Linked DNA regions of Homo sapiens: regions 2, 3 and 4 are each linked to region 1. The links are contacts of gene promoters, found by promoter capture Hi-C in blood cells and fetal thymus (Javierre and others, 2016). All regions are on one chromosome and are shown on one strand. The core of a region is centred on a gene start or on the middle of the fragment in contact, and the rest is flanking DNA. Distances in the headings are between cores, read along the strand shown. Region 1 holds the start of SGCE (sarcoglycan epsilon). Region 2 overlaps ASB4 (ankyrin repeat and SOCS box containing 4). Region 3 overlaps PPP1R9A (protein phosphatase 1 regulatory subunit 9A). Region 4 overlaps PPP1R9A (protein phosphatase 1 regulatory subunit 9A).

What was found. The method cuts DNA at HindIII sites, captures the fragments that hold promoters and counts their contacts. A CHiCAGO score of 5 or more calls a contact.
Region 2: a contact is called between a fragment that was not itself captured here and the fragment with the promoter of SGCE in region 1, in 1 of 17 cell types (fetal thymus). The highest score is 6.3, in fetal thymus.
Region 3: a contact is called between a fragment that was not itself captured here and the fragment with the promoter of SGCE in region 1, in 2 of 17 cell types (M2 macrophages and M0 macrophages). The highest score is 6.4, in M2 macrophages.
Region 4: a fragment that was not itself captured here is called in contact with the fragment with the promoter of SGCE in region 1 in 2 of 17 cell types (M2 macrophages and M0 macrophages); the score reaches 6.2 in M2 macrophages.

Annotation. Positions count from the first base shown.
Region 1 is chr7:94,654,538-94,657,705 of GRCh38, forward strand. It overlaps SGCE (sarcoglycan epsilon), which reads right to left and starts at 1,596. Exons shown (of 11, transcript NM_003919.3): 1 at 1,453-1,596. The coding sequence starts at 1,561. It overlaps PEG10 (paternally expressed 10), which reads left to right and starts at 1,788. Exons shown (of 2, transcript NM_001172437.2): 1 at 1,788-2,054. The coding sequence starts at 2,050. RefSeq lists enhancers at 944-1,721, 2,991-3,040. The HindIII fragment of the contact is 19,954 bases long and covers 1-3,168 here.
Region 2 is chr7:95,486,739-95,489,906 of GRCh38, forward strand. All of the region lies in intron 1 of ASB4 (ankyrin repeat and SOCS box containing 4), which reads left to right. Among named protein-coding and RNA genes, the nearest start is that of ASB4, 2.4 kb to the left of the region's middle. The HindIII fragment of the contact is 2,068 bases long and covers 692-2,759 here.
Region 3 is chr7:95,241,338-95,244,505 of GRCh38, forward strand. The region is part of intron 8 of PPP1R9A (protein phosphatase 1 regulatory subunit 9A); the gene reads left to right. Among named protein-coding and RNA genes, the nearest start is that of PPP1R9A-AS1, 29 kb to the left of the region's middle. The HindIII fragment of the contact is 1,282 bases long and covers 817-2,098 here.
Region 4 is chr7:95,196,972-95,200,139 of GRCh38, forward strand. It overlaps PPP1R9A (protein phosphatase 1 regulatory subunit 9A), which reads left to right. Exons shown (of 20, transcript NM_001166160.2): 6 at 1,378-1,513. The region is part of intron 1 of PPP1R9A-AS1 (PPP1R9A antisense RNA 1); the gene reads right to left. Among named protein-coding and RNA genes, the nearest start is that of PPP1R9A-AS1, 16 kb to the right of the region's middle. The HindIII fragment of the contact is 834 bases long and covers 1,220-2,053 here.

The DNA.
Region 1 (3,168 bases), core at 346-2,845:
TCTAAAAAGTATAATTGTGTTTACCCAACTTCCTAGGGAAATGTCTTTGTTAAAAAGCTGCATTTCATTCATTCATATTCCGGATAGTGGGCATTTTCTAATAAAAAGTAAAATCTCAGTAAATGGGCTACAGTTTTGTTTATTCCTAGAAAGGCTCTCTTTTAAAGTGCGGTGTCTGCAACGTTGTTATGACAATAAGTCAAATTCTTATTGATATTCCAAGTATAAAATAATCCGTAGCAATGTTACTAAAATGTGCTCAATTTTGCTCTTCAAATATGAAAGCGTTTCATCTGTGTTTCAGAAACCTAACTCAGCTGTAGACAATTTGGTTTTCCCTTTTAACTTAAACTTGTTTTACTAAGATCATCAACAGATTGTCAGTTTCCCAAGCACCTGACACTGAGGCGCTTAGATGGGAATCCGCGTTAAGGTTTTATTTAGCATCCTTCCTCATCAGAATTTTAGCGTCTTATCAGCCACTGCAATTTTCCCTGACATAAAATATATATGTTCATAGTACAAATGCACGCAAATATTTGTGGCCGAATCTCGGCAACCCGCTGGAAAGGATTAAACGTGCGGTTGCCGTGACTAAACGCATTCATTCACCCTACAAGATTTAGGAAAATGTAACGTTGCAAGGGAAGCAAGGTCTCTGTGTAAACCTCGTAATCGCCACCAAAAGTCGGTAGCTGGGAGCCTTCAAAGCCCGCCAAACACACTGGAAGCATCCACAGCTGTTTTAAATTGGTTTTGGTTTCTGGAAATAGCGCACTCGGTACGGCAGCATCTCTGGCCTCCAGCCGGGGTTAACCCTGACCTGAACGCCCTGTTTAGCTCCCAGCATTTCATGATTCCGCTTCCCTGCTCCGTAAAACCGAAGAAAACCGAGATTTCCGTCACCGAGAAATGCACTTAGCAAGAGGGGGAAATTCGGTGTTTTAAATGTCACATTTTTGTGTTCTCTACCACTATCAAGAAAAGGAAAAAAGATGTGTTTGTGTAGCGGGGACGCAGCTTGACACCCATTTCCTTTGGCTCGCATCGCGGTCGCAGAGCCCAATCGCGGGGAAACGGGCCCCCCAGAAAAACAGGCAACGACCCCCAGCTCTTTGCTACAGGGATCGGGAGAGGACTACCCTGGGGCTGGGCGGGGAGGGGGATGTTGGGAACAGGAATTGGAGATGGAATTTCTGCGCCCGCAGAGCAGGGAGGGGCCCGCGGGGGCGCGGAGAGGAAAAAAAGGCCAGGGGTCAAGCCTGGGGAGAGAGAAGCTGGGCCGGGGAAATGGGGTACAGGGTGTACTGAAGGAGGGGTACGGTGGGGTCCGGGACAGAAAGAGAGGCTGGTGCCCAAAGGGCGCGCTCAGGCGCCCGGAACCCGAGCGGGGGAGGGGGAGGCGGCGGCCTGTTGGCCCCGGGACCTCCACGTCGCGCGCAGGCCACTAACCTGTCAGCAAGAATGTGCCAGTGGTCGCGGGGCTCATCCTGCGTGTCCCCCGACCCTGTCCCGTCCAAGCACAGGGGTCTCCCAGCTCCCACCACCGGGGCAATTGCATTCTTGGCCTGGCTAGGCCGTCCGTCCTCGATTCTCCCCTCCCCTCCCTTTCTTCTTCCCTCCCAGCTTGGCCAGTTCAGCATCAGCATCCCGCACCCCCTCGGTAATCCCGTACTCCCTCTAGCGGCGGGCCACTGCAGCGTGGCCACCGCCCCCACCCCCATCCCCCATCCCCGCACCCCCCTCCACCCCCTAGCCCGCGGAGCACGCTGGGATTTGGCGCCCCCCTCCTCGGTGCAACCTATATAAGGCTCACAGTCTGCGCTCCTGGTACACGCGCTTCAACTTCGGTTGGTGTGTGTCGAAGAAACCTGACTGCGCCCTGAGGAGAACAGCGGAGAAGGTCCACCGAGCCTGGCGAAAGGTCCGCTGAGCGGGCTGTCGTCCGGAGCCACTCCGGGCTGCGGAGCACCCAGTGGAGACCGCGCCTGGCTCAGGTGTGGGACCCCATCCTTCCTGTCTTCGCAGAGGAGTCCTCGCGTGGTGAGTATGCGGTGAGGACGTTTTTTTTTTAAAGATCACGTTCATTCCCCGTGCTTATCGGGAGCTGCGGGAGATGGAGTAGCACCCCAGAATGTCTCCACGCAAAACTTGTCACGCCTTCACTGGCTGTACCCCAAAACAAATGGGGAAACCAAGCCTTAAAGGCTTGGGTTTCCAGGACCAAGTCCAGATACGGGCTGTAGACAGAGATGAGCTGCGGACAGTGATGAGCTGCAGACGGTCAGGAGCTATAGATCGATTTGCAATTTGCTCTTCAAATGCGCTACCAAGTGCCATGCTTTACAAACAGATAAGCGCTTCAAATGCGCTACAAACTGGCGCTTCAGATGCGCTACAAGCACGCTTCACGCGGGCGACAAACTGATGGGAGCTACAACTGGCGCTTCATTGCGCTATAAACTGATGGGCGCTTTATGTGCCACAAACTGACGGATGGGCGCTTCAGTGGCGCTACAATCCAGAACGAGGAGCAGCGATATAGGAGCTGCAGACAGAAAACTGAATTGCGCTTTACATGCGCTGCAAAATCTGAGCTGCAGAAGAGTAGCACTACAAAAAACGCTACAAAAACGATGCGATTAGCCAGCCCGACAACAGCGCTTCATTGCGCTGCGAGGCACATGAACTGCAGAGGTACATGAGCTGCGGAACAATTCACACCTAAGATGCACTACAAAGTGGTAAGAGCTGCAGAGGTACAGGAGCTGCAGACCGTTTGCGCTACAAATAAAGCAGCCGTAGTGGGACATGAGCTGCGGAGTACAATTCCTCTGTTTTCTTGGAGCAGGACCCCACCCTTTCACCTTTTGGAATGGCTCCCACTCTATTTTTCTGCAGGACGGTTCTCGCATGATGGTGCTGGTAGACAAAATGGAGCCCCGGGCAAAAATTAGTGTTTAACATTCTGCCCACACCATTCCCGCTATAGCAGTGGAGTGGAGGGGCACTGATTGGAGTGGAAATGGGAATCTTTTGGTGATGGCAGAGCAGGCTGCCTGCCTACTTGTGCTTGATTGAAGTGGCGGTGTAGTTGTGGTGGCGCGAATCAGCGTCCAGCAACAGTTTGTGGAAACTGTGGGTTTGCTGAGTATGGCGGGGGAATTG
Region 2 (3,168 bases), core at 476-2,975, 830 kb after region 1:
ACTTTTTTCCTGGACTACAATAATTGTTCAAAATTGTAGATGTGTTTAATACAGAATATCTGTCTTATAACGACCTAAGGAAAACAAAAATTAGACCAATTTTTTTTTACCAAGGAATTTTCTGGAACCCATGCTTAATAAATCAGAAATGAATTAGAGTTCCACTGATTCTGATTTCCCAAATCAACTGGTTAATTGGGGGAACGTGAGTAGTTAGATCATCTGGCGAGCATACTGCAAACATGCTGCTCAACATCACTAATGTTTAATACAATATAGATGCTAAGGTCTTGTGTATAGCATTTAGAGACAGTCATTATTTTAATGTTTAAAAATGATTTCTGGCCATCTATAAATCATCAGTATAATACATTTCCAGATACAAATGCTAATGGTACAGTATATATTTCTTCATTAATTTACTGTCCTCCGATTGTCAGTTCTGAGGGACATATAGAAGAGCTCAGGCTAGTTACTATGTTTATGATTTTTACTCAAGGGCTTTATAATATTTTGGCATTAATGGCATTAATATTTTGATGGGAAGACAAAGAAGGGATCTATTTTTTAAAAAGTTTATGGGGTCTGTTAGAAAATTTGTATACTATATAATCAGATTGCTTTCATCTTATAATTTTGTTCAGTGATAGAATGTCTGAATGCTAAACTAATTTTTAAGATGTTTTTAAAAAGCTTATATTTGTGCCTAGGGTGAAATAACTCAGGTTCAAGTCAGTGGGTAAGTTATTTGACCCTGAGTTGCAAAGACTGTCTTCTCTCATCTGAGCAGGCCAAGTTGCACAGATTGTGGGAAGTTTCTGAGGATATAAGAAACCAAGTTTTAGGTGCAGGCTCTAGGGAAGTGGAGGGGAGAGGTGGGGTTGGTTCTCCTACTTCCACCGGTGTCATCTTCCTTGAAGGAAAAGAAAATACATTTTAAATTCTTCTTGTCAATATGAGCTGACTCCTATGGTCCTCATAGAGCTAAATTTTCATTCCCACGAATTGAGGTGTTTTCATAGTGTTAGGACTGTGGGATGTGGCTTTCAATTAGGGAGATAGCAAATTACACCCTCTGGAAAAGGAAAAGAACAGTTCCATTCTTATGTATGCCAAGTGGATGCTTGCACAGAACTAGTAAAATTTGTGGTCTTACTTTTAGGGTTTATGCAGGAAATTTGTGTCTGCACTCATGTGTAGAAAGAAACACACTTGAAACACACTTCTCCACTACTCTGTTTAATACGCACATGGGCACAAGGACCTGTCTCTTTAGTCTTAAACCCAGGTTAAAACTTCATCTTTCTTAAAAGTTTCTTCAGGCCGGGAGTGGTGGCTCACGCCTGTAATCCCAGCACTTTGAGAGGCCGAGGTGGGCTGATCACGAGGTCAGGAGATAGAGACCATCCTGCCTAACACGGTGAAACCCCATTTCTACTAAAAATACAAAAAATTAGCCAGGCGCGGTGGCGGCCGCCTGTAGTCCCAGCTACTCCCGAGGCTGAGACAGGAGAATGGTGTGAACCCGGGAGGCGGAGCTTGCAGTGAGCCCAGATGGCGCCACTGCACTCCAGCCTGGGTGACACAGGGAGACTCCGTCTCAAAAAGAAAAAAAAAAAGAAGTTTCTTCCAATTTTTTTCACATGCTTCCAACCTTATCATCGATCCTTTTAAACTTAGGAATGGAAAGTTAGGAATGGAAATGACAAATAGAATCCTAGCTGCTAGTAGATCTAAGTGGTTATATCAATTTCTTAAGTCATAAAGTCATTGTCAGGCAACAGCGTGGAGCTGAGCAGTCTACAGTGGTTAGTTAGTTCTTTTCTAAATAGTTCAAAGGAATAGGACCCATTTCTGTGTGGCCTTAAAAGGTATGTGGCTGGATTAAAGTTTGTGAGACTTTATTAAATCAAAGGAGAAGTTTTGGACCTTGGACGCTGTTGAACTGCTACACACTGCTCTTTGATTTTTTTAAAGCACTTTTGAAAAGCTCTCCGCAAAAGTGCATAAATAAGTGTGCAGCTTGATTACTTTTCACAAAATAACAAACCTATGTAACCAGCATCCAGATGAGGAAACAGAGCATTCCTGTTTACTTTTAAAGTGTGGGAATCTTCAGGTTTCAGTTATTTTTGGCTTAATAAGAAAGACAATGCACAAAACCTATAACGAATCTCATGCTACTCTTAAATTTCCTTGTGTAATCAATACTAAAATTCTATATTCAACATTTGATAGTCCTATAGAAAGTGAAAAGTAGTACAATCAATTCTAAACCATTCTTATTTATTTAGAACATACAGCATTTTTATAGGATTTAAGAAGTAACTAAATTTTATCCCTAAATATAGTCCATCTAAGCCTATATGAAAGTCAGTGTATAATTTTTGAAAAGGGAACTCAGAACTCTGCTGGCAAATAAATCACCTAAAATCTAAATAGTGCTTCCCAAATTTACAATCTACTGGGCACACCAGTAATCAAAAGTTTAGCTCATAAGCAAATATGAAATGTGTATTTTGTGAGGAAGACAGAATAAAGCTATTGGATTACAAATAAGTCTGGAAGCTCATTTCTGCTTTCCTCTGTAGCACTGGGCCCATCTCATTGAATAGCTTCTCTTACCAATTTGGCAGAGAACAGATTTAGAAGCCAGCCTCCAGAGTTCATGTTCAAACTGTGGATCCTGTCTTTCTCCAGCACCTAATCATGATTCTTAAAGTTAGAGAGCTCTCACTTTACTTTTCTAAGTTATTTTAAGCTTCATAATAAAATCTGCAGATGAAATCATGTTTTATTAATTTAAAGAAACTTTTCTCACATTTTGTAAAGCAAACATTTAAAATGTGCTGGTTGGCATTTGAGAGACCTCCCTGGGAATGGCGGAGATAATGGGTCTTAAAAGCAAAAACAAGTAAGCCAAAATTGCGTTTACCAGATGATCACTTTAAAATAAAAACGATATAAAGAAAACATAAAGAATGACTTTCTAACTGCCAAATGCAATAAGTCATTGAAAGTCAAGGGATGTCAGTGATATAACATTAATTATGAGCCAACCACTGAGTATTTAGAGTGAAGTCAAGCACAGAAGAAATCTTTAAAGAAAACACAAATGTCCCTTCTATTGGTTTTCACTGGTTACTTCCATACTGGAAAGACGAAGGA
Region 3 (3,168 bases), core at 208-2,707, 590 kb after region 1:
ACAGTAGGGGTTGTCCACTTTTTGCTTGGGACAGAATGGATCTCAAGCCATCAGTGAGGGTGGTACAAAGTGTCTCCCTGATGTCAGAGGGGATCTTGGATAGATTTTTCTTAATTCAACTTCATGACTCTTTTATATTCTATGAACTGTTGTTTTTAGTTGTGGTGTTCATTTTTGATTGTGAGTTTTTTTGTTTTTAATGTGATTACACTGGCAGTTTAATGGAAGGTACGGCGAGGCTGGCTCAGGAACTGTTAGCCAGGTACCATTTAAAGTGACTGTCCAATTTCTCCCTTGCCATTCCTCCTCAGGAGTCACAGCAATTGCAACAATTAAAAAAATTCGACATTTCTCTTGAAGAAAAAATGGAGTCTAAAAGTTGGTTTATTTTATTTATTTAATTCTATGAAAAAGAATCTAGAAAAGTTATAAAATGCATGGGATAATAACATTAAGTTATCTTTATGGAAGTTTCCACTACCATGTAGGGAAGCTATAAATTGCTGCCTACTTAATAGCAAACAGTTACTTATTTAAAAAAGAGCTGTAATTACAGGCCATCAACTACATCCAGCAGCAGCATCATTAATAACAAGTTTATGAGTACCTACTTAGGGAGTGACCTTGTTAGAGAATCTCACCCAATGCTACATATGCTGCCATTAGTGTTACCATTCAGATTAGATTGTGATATTGTTCAGTCAGCCAGTTTTAGTTCATTTTGCATACATGATTCCCTAAGTAAAACACTTTCGTTAATACTGGATAGATACCATATGTAAACTTTTCAGCAGAAATTACAAAGAAATATGGCAAAGCTTCATCTTAACACCAAAATGTAGTTAAAAACAGCTTTGATTTCTTTTGTGAAGCTATATTGTTGTAGGTAAGACATACATCACTCAAATACTCACAAAGATAACTAAAAATTTAGATCCCAATCTAGAAAGCACTTTATAAAGTTCTATGCAAATATTAGTTATTGATTTGCTTTTGTAAAGCAACAGCAGAAAATGTTGCCCTTATCTGATTGTAATATTTCTAGAACTAGAGCTCTCTTAAAACATTTCCTGCAAAGATATTTTTCACTTTTTAAAGAAAAATGTTTCCATGCTCTCACAGGATAAGTAGAGAGAGGGCAAAAGTTCAGTCTCACTATTTAAGTTTCTGTGTAAAGGATGTTTCTATTTCTAGCACAGTTATATTTGGATTATATCGATCCGGTAATATGAGTGCATGTTCTGTATTCATCTTTTTGAAAAAAAAATTATACACAGCAGGTACACCTTCAGAATGTTAAATGAAAGCTCCTGTTCTCATAGGAATGTGTATGTTTATTTGTGCTGAAATCCTGAGGTGCATATCTATGGCTTTCATATTAAAGATGACTGAAGAGATGAAAATGATGGTCTTGTAAGTTAAAAGACTTTTACCTGCAGTCCTTAACCTTTTCTTTTTATTTATGCCCTCCTAATCCCAACTCTTTTCTCCAAACCTAGCTTCTCTGAAGCCCAAAAACTCCAACAGGCATCTCAGGCTCTATTTCTATTAACCAGCCCTGTTAACCTTCTATCCCTGCAGTCAGCGTGCCTGACCATTCTTGCAAACTCTTGGACCTGTACTTTGAAAAGGTTATTGATTCTTGACATAAATCTCTTAAACATGTGGAAAGGGAACTGCTCTAGAATAAGAAAACTCAACCTTTTACCAACTATGCTTCATTTGTCGAGGTCCTTCACCCCTGTGAAAAGCAATTTTCTTTTCCTCATGAAATGGAGATAACTTGGGTCCATCTTGCTCACTTTGCTTGGAAAGTAGGGTCCACGTCTGGACAAACAGGCCAAAGACACATGACATCTGATCTGGCTATAGGAACAAAAGACTAAACAAGCCATCCAGCAGCAGGTTGCCTCTGACCTTTCTCACAGGGTGATCTGGAGAATTCTTACAAGGTGTTTTTATTAATCTCCCTGAAGTATCTTGAAAGTAGATTCTATGTCATGTTCATGTATCCTCAGTGATTAGCATAGTACCTAGCACGTAGTCTCAGTCACTAAAGGCCAATTGATTATTAAGGGAGGTGGAGGTCTGCTTTCTAAGCTTCATTAATAATAACAGCAGCTGATTGAGCACCATTTTGCATTCACTGTCAGAATGCTCAGAGACTACCAGAAGTGATCCATGGTTTCCAGTTGGAGTAATAACTTCTCATCTGAGAGGTTATGATGATGACATATGGCTTGGGGTTTGGGGGAAGATTAAATGAAAAATATATCCCAAAGCAACTGGTTCAGTTAGATACATGGTTAAGGGAGGAACAGAGGTAGGAAGAGTCAAATCTGGTTTTGTTTCCGCTCCATCACCTGTTTCTAGTGGGAACTTGAAAAGGTGTGTGACTTCCCTGAGCCTCTTTCCTCATCTGAACCATGAGGTTCACAACACCTGCCCTGCCTCCCCCAGTCATTTGCAATGATAAAGGGAGATGATTAAAAATAAAGGGGCCTACAAATGTAAGAAATTTAGTATTAGTGGAAAGAACCATGGGCTGGGATTTCTAAAACCTGGCTTTGGCACCTAATAGCCTTCCAAGGTAAGCTCACTAGACACAGGTCCATACTATATAAAACAAAAAGGGTTCAGTTAGTGTATTTTGATGCTTTTCTTGTCAAAAGTGATGGATTTGTAGAAATTCTCTTAATGTACATACAGAATTAAAATAATCGCATATTTTTAATTTTAGGCCTCATGTGTACTAAGAAAATCTTGTCCATTCTGAATAATGTGAATTTACACAATTCATTCTGCTTTCCTATATGTAAAGAATTTAGCTATACTTAGTAACACTCCAAACTTTGCGCAGTTGTTCTCACCTCACTGCTAATTAGTTCAGTTCCCTCCTGTTATCCATTTTTGGTGAGATGGAAAGGGTAGAATAGATCAACATGGGCTGTTTCACAGTTTTACCTGGGTTTGTCCCACAATTTGTGGATTAATCTAGTGTATTTATTCACAAGAAGGAAAATATTGGCTCAGGACAAGAATTTCTAAGCTCTGCAACCTTGACAACTACCTTCAGGTTCTTTGTTTCATAAATGTCACACCTGTTGTATGTGAAAGGGCCCTTGGAGTTCCTCACATCTAGCATTTTTCATATGGGAAACTGAGGCC
Region 4 (3,168 bases), core at 387-2,886, 540 kb after region 1:
AAAATAACACAAAAGATAAGTGAACACTTAAAGATAATTTCAAAGTAAATCTTGCTTGAAACTATATAAAAGTATTTATTAAAAGGCAATTAATTACTAACATCCAAGTGTGAAAATTTTGACCTTTAGTGTATTGTGCAGAAAAATTGTGGTATATTTCATTTAAAATTGATCAAAGACAGCAACATACATTAATCAGAGGAAAGCATCAATTAAATGTAGAAACAAGATTTAAACAAAGATTCATATTAAAATAATGATAAGTAATACTTAGAAACTGCATCCTAGAGACACATTATTCGTATTTTTAGAAAAACAGAAACATATTAGTGTGAAAAGATGTTAAAAAATGAATATTAAATTGTTGAGCACAACACATTATGTTGGCAACAATATACCATAAGTGACTGTAGCTTGCAATAAGGAAATATCTTACTTGTTTTTCTCTTTAGGCTTTTTTTATAGGCATTAATAACAAATATTTCCTTTCCTCCCTTATTTATTGAATCACACCCCTTCTCATACTATCTTTCCCCCCAAAGGAAGTGAATTAATTCACTACCTCTTGTTATTACAGTTTTTCATTTTAAAAACAAAAAACACTTAAGTTTTCCTTTTCTCTTATTTCAAAGTTATATATTTAGCCACCTGAGTTATGCTATGCGTCAAAATGTTTGTTGTTGTTGTTGTTGTTGGTTTGAGACAGAGTCTCTGTCACCCAGGCTGGAGTGCAGTGGCGCGGTCTTGGCTCACTGCAACCTCCGCCTCTCGGATTCAAACGATTCTCCTGCCTCAGCCTCCAGAGTAGCTGGGACTACAGGTGCGCGCCACCACGCCCGGCTAATTTTTGTATTTTTAGTAGAGACGGGATTTTGCCTTCTTGGCCAGGCTGCTCTCGAACTCCGGGCCTCAGGTGATCCACCCACCTTTGCCTCCCAAAGTGTTGGGATTATAGGCTTGAGCCACTGAGCCCAGCCCTCAAAATGTTTTTGAAGTAATTTTTGTTATAGTTACACAAATGCTTCTTTAGTTCAATGGTACAGGAAATTATGAGCTTGCTTCTATTTTGTATGGCATCAAAAATGTGTAAAGTACTGCAGAATGGGTTACGTATATTACATCTTCTCTTAAAATGATAATTTTTATGGTCCTTTACTTTTTTCCCCCTTCTTTTCCTTTATGAGCTGTGTCCCTAAAAATCACTTTAATTGCACATCTAAGCTTTCTTCTCACCCAAGAAAACCATTTTGAAGTACGTAGGTGATATTACTTTCTTGAGGCTTGATGGACCCTGCTGAGATCAAACCTGTTTACTTTTCTTAAAACTCCTTTTTGTTGGAGAGTCTTAAATATTAGTCTTTGTTAACCTTTCCACAGATTTGTTATTGGGCGGGAAAAACCAGGACAAGTGAGCGAGGTTGCCCAGTTGATAAGCCAGACACTGGAACAGGAGAGGCGCCAGAGAGAGCTGCTGGAACAGCACTATGCCCAGTATGATGCCGACGATGACGAGGTCAGTAGTGCTTGCAAAGATTCTTTTTCCCACATTTTCTAATTCATGAAACTCTCTCTACTGTATAACAGTATGACAGGTTTTATGCAGTTTCTTGAGGAAGGTGTGTCCACATTGAACTAAAATTCTACCTTAGAAAAGAAATACTACTCGCATCTGATATACGCTTAAGAATCAAGTCATGGTATCCTGTTTACAGTATGAAGACTGTGGACACAAATAAGTCTTATCTTTTGCACTATTATAAAGGAAGTCATAGAAACAGAAAAGGATAAAAACACAAAAATGTGAATAATGTCATCTTTATTGGTGGAATTGGGTGATTTTCTCTCTCTGCTTTATATTTTTTCAATCTTTTCCAAATGTTCTACAATAGTATGTAATGCTTTTCCAAAAAATCAGTAAACACACCCATACACAAACAAATATACATAGAAAAGTACTAAAGATTGCTGAGTGTTTCCAGTGTCTTTTTCCCCCAGGAAGAAAAAGTTCTTTGGATCTGCTTACTATGATTTGTGCTAACATAATGCAGAACAAAGCTTTCCACTAGCACATGTTCCATAGAGCAGATACATATTGGAATAATTTTACATCCTGCTTTCTGTAAAAGATCAAGTAAATGAATAGAAGCTAACCCCCAAGTGAAAACAGCTCTCCAGAACCCTTGTGTGCTGTAATATAATACAGATGCTGGTCTATTTCTAATGTCTTTGAAATGTACATTGATATAATGGGACAACATGCTTTATTATAAACACGTTTAAACATTCATGTGTTTCATATTGGTGTGTCAAAAGATCCATCAACAATTTAATTGTAGTATTTTATACTCCATAAACTAGTACATATTCAGGTAAAACAAATATTCTTCATTCCAGCTAATATAACCACAGTGAAACTTCATGTATTCAACCCCTTCTTATCTGAATATATAATTTTTCAGAATTTTGCTTTCTAGCCAGGATATAGATATTAATAAACAGACATTCAAATATTTTCACATATTTTTAATCTGAGATGTTTTAATCCCAATGTATATTAAGATCTCATGAATATGTGGTATAATGAGGATATATTCTCCACTTATAGCAGAAAATTAGAGGTGGTATATCCGTTAACTTTTGATCAAAGAATAATATATTAGAAATCCTTTAAATGAATGAATTAGACTCTTAGAACTTGATTTAATTTATTTTCTTACTTGGTGAGTCCATTTGAAATGGCAAGTATATTTTCATTACACTGAGATATTTTGTATGAAAAATGTTCTCTTGAATTTTCAAACTAAAAAAGGGATTTCCTCAAATATTTTGAACTTGTATCTTACCTGGTTTTCAATTCTTTACATTAGTATTTTGTATTTTATCAGAGACACTGATTTGCTTTTGCTGCAAGCTTATTCTGAGATTGTAGAATCATTTTCTGCAGGTTTGATTTTTGCGTCCTCACTGTGCTAGGATTTTTGGTCTTAGGTTCAGGGGAGTACAGTGACATCAAGTGGTGGAAGGGGACATGGCCAGGCTTTCTAGTCTGTGTGCCTTGGTGTCTTTGGCATGAAAGCACAGGGATTGGGCTAGATCACAAAATTCCTTCCAGCTTCTAATGTTCCATGAATATGAAATAAGACATCAAGTCTAACAAGCAGAGGGGGC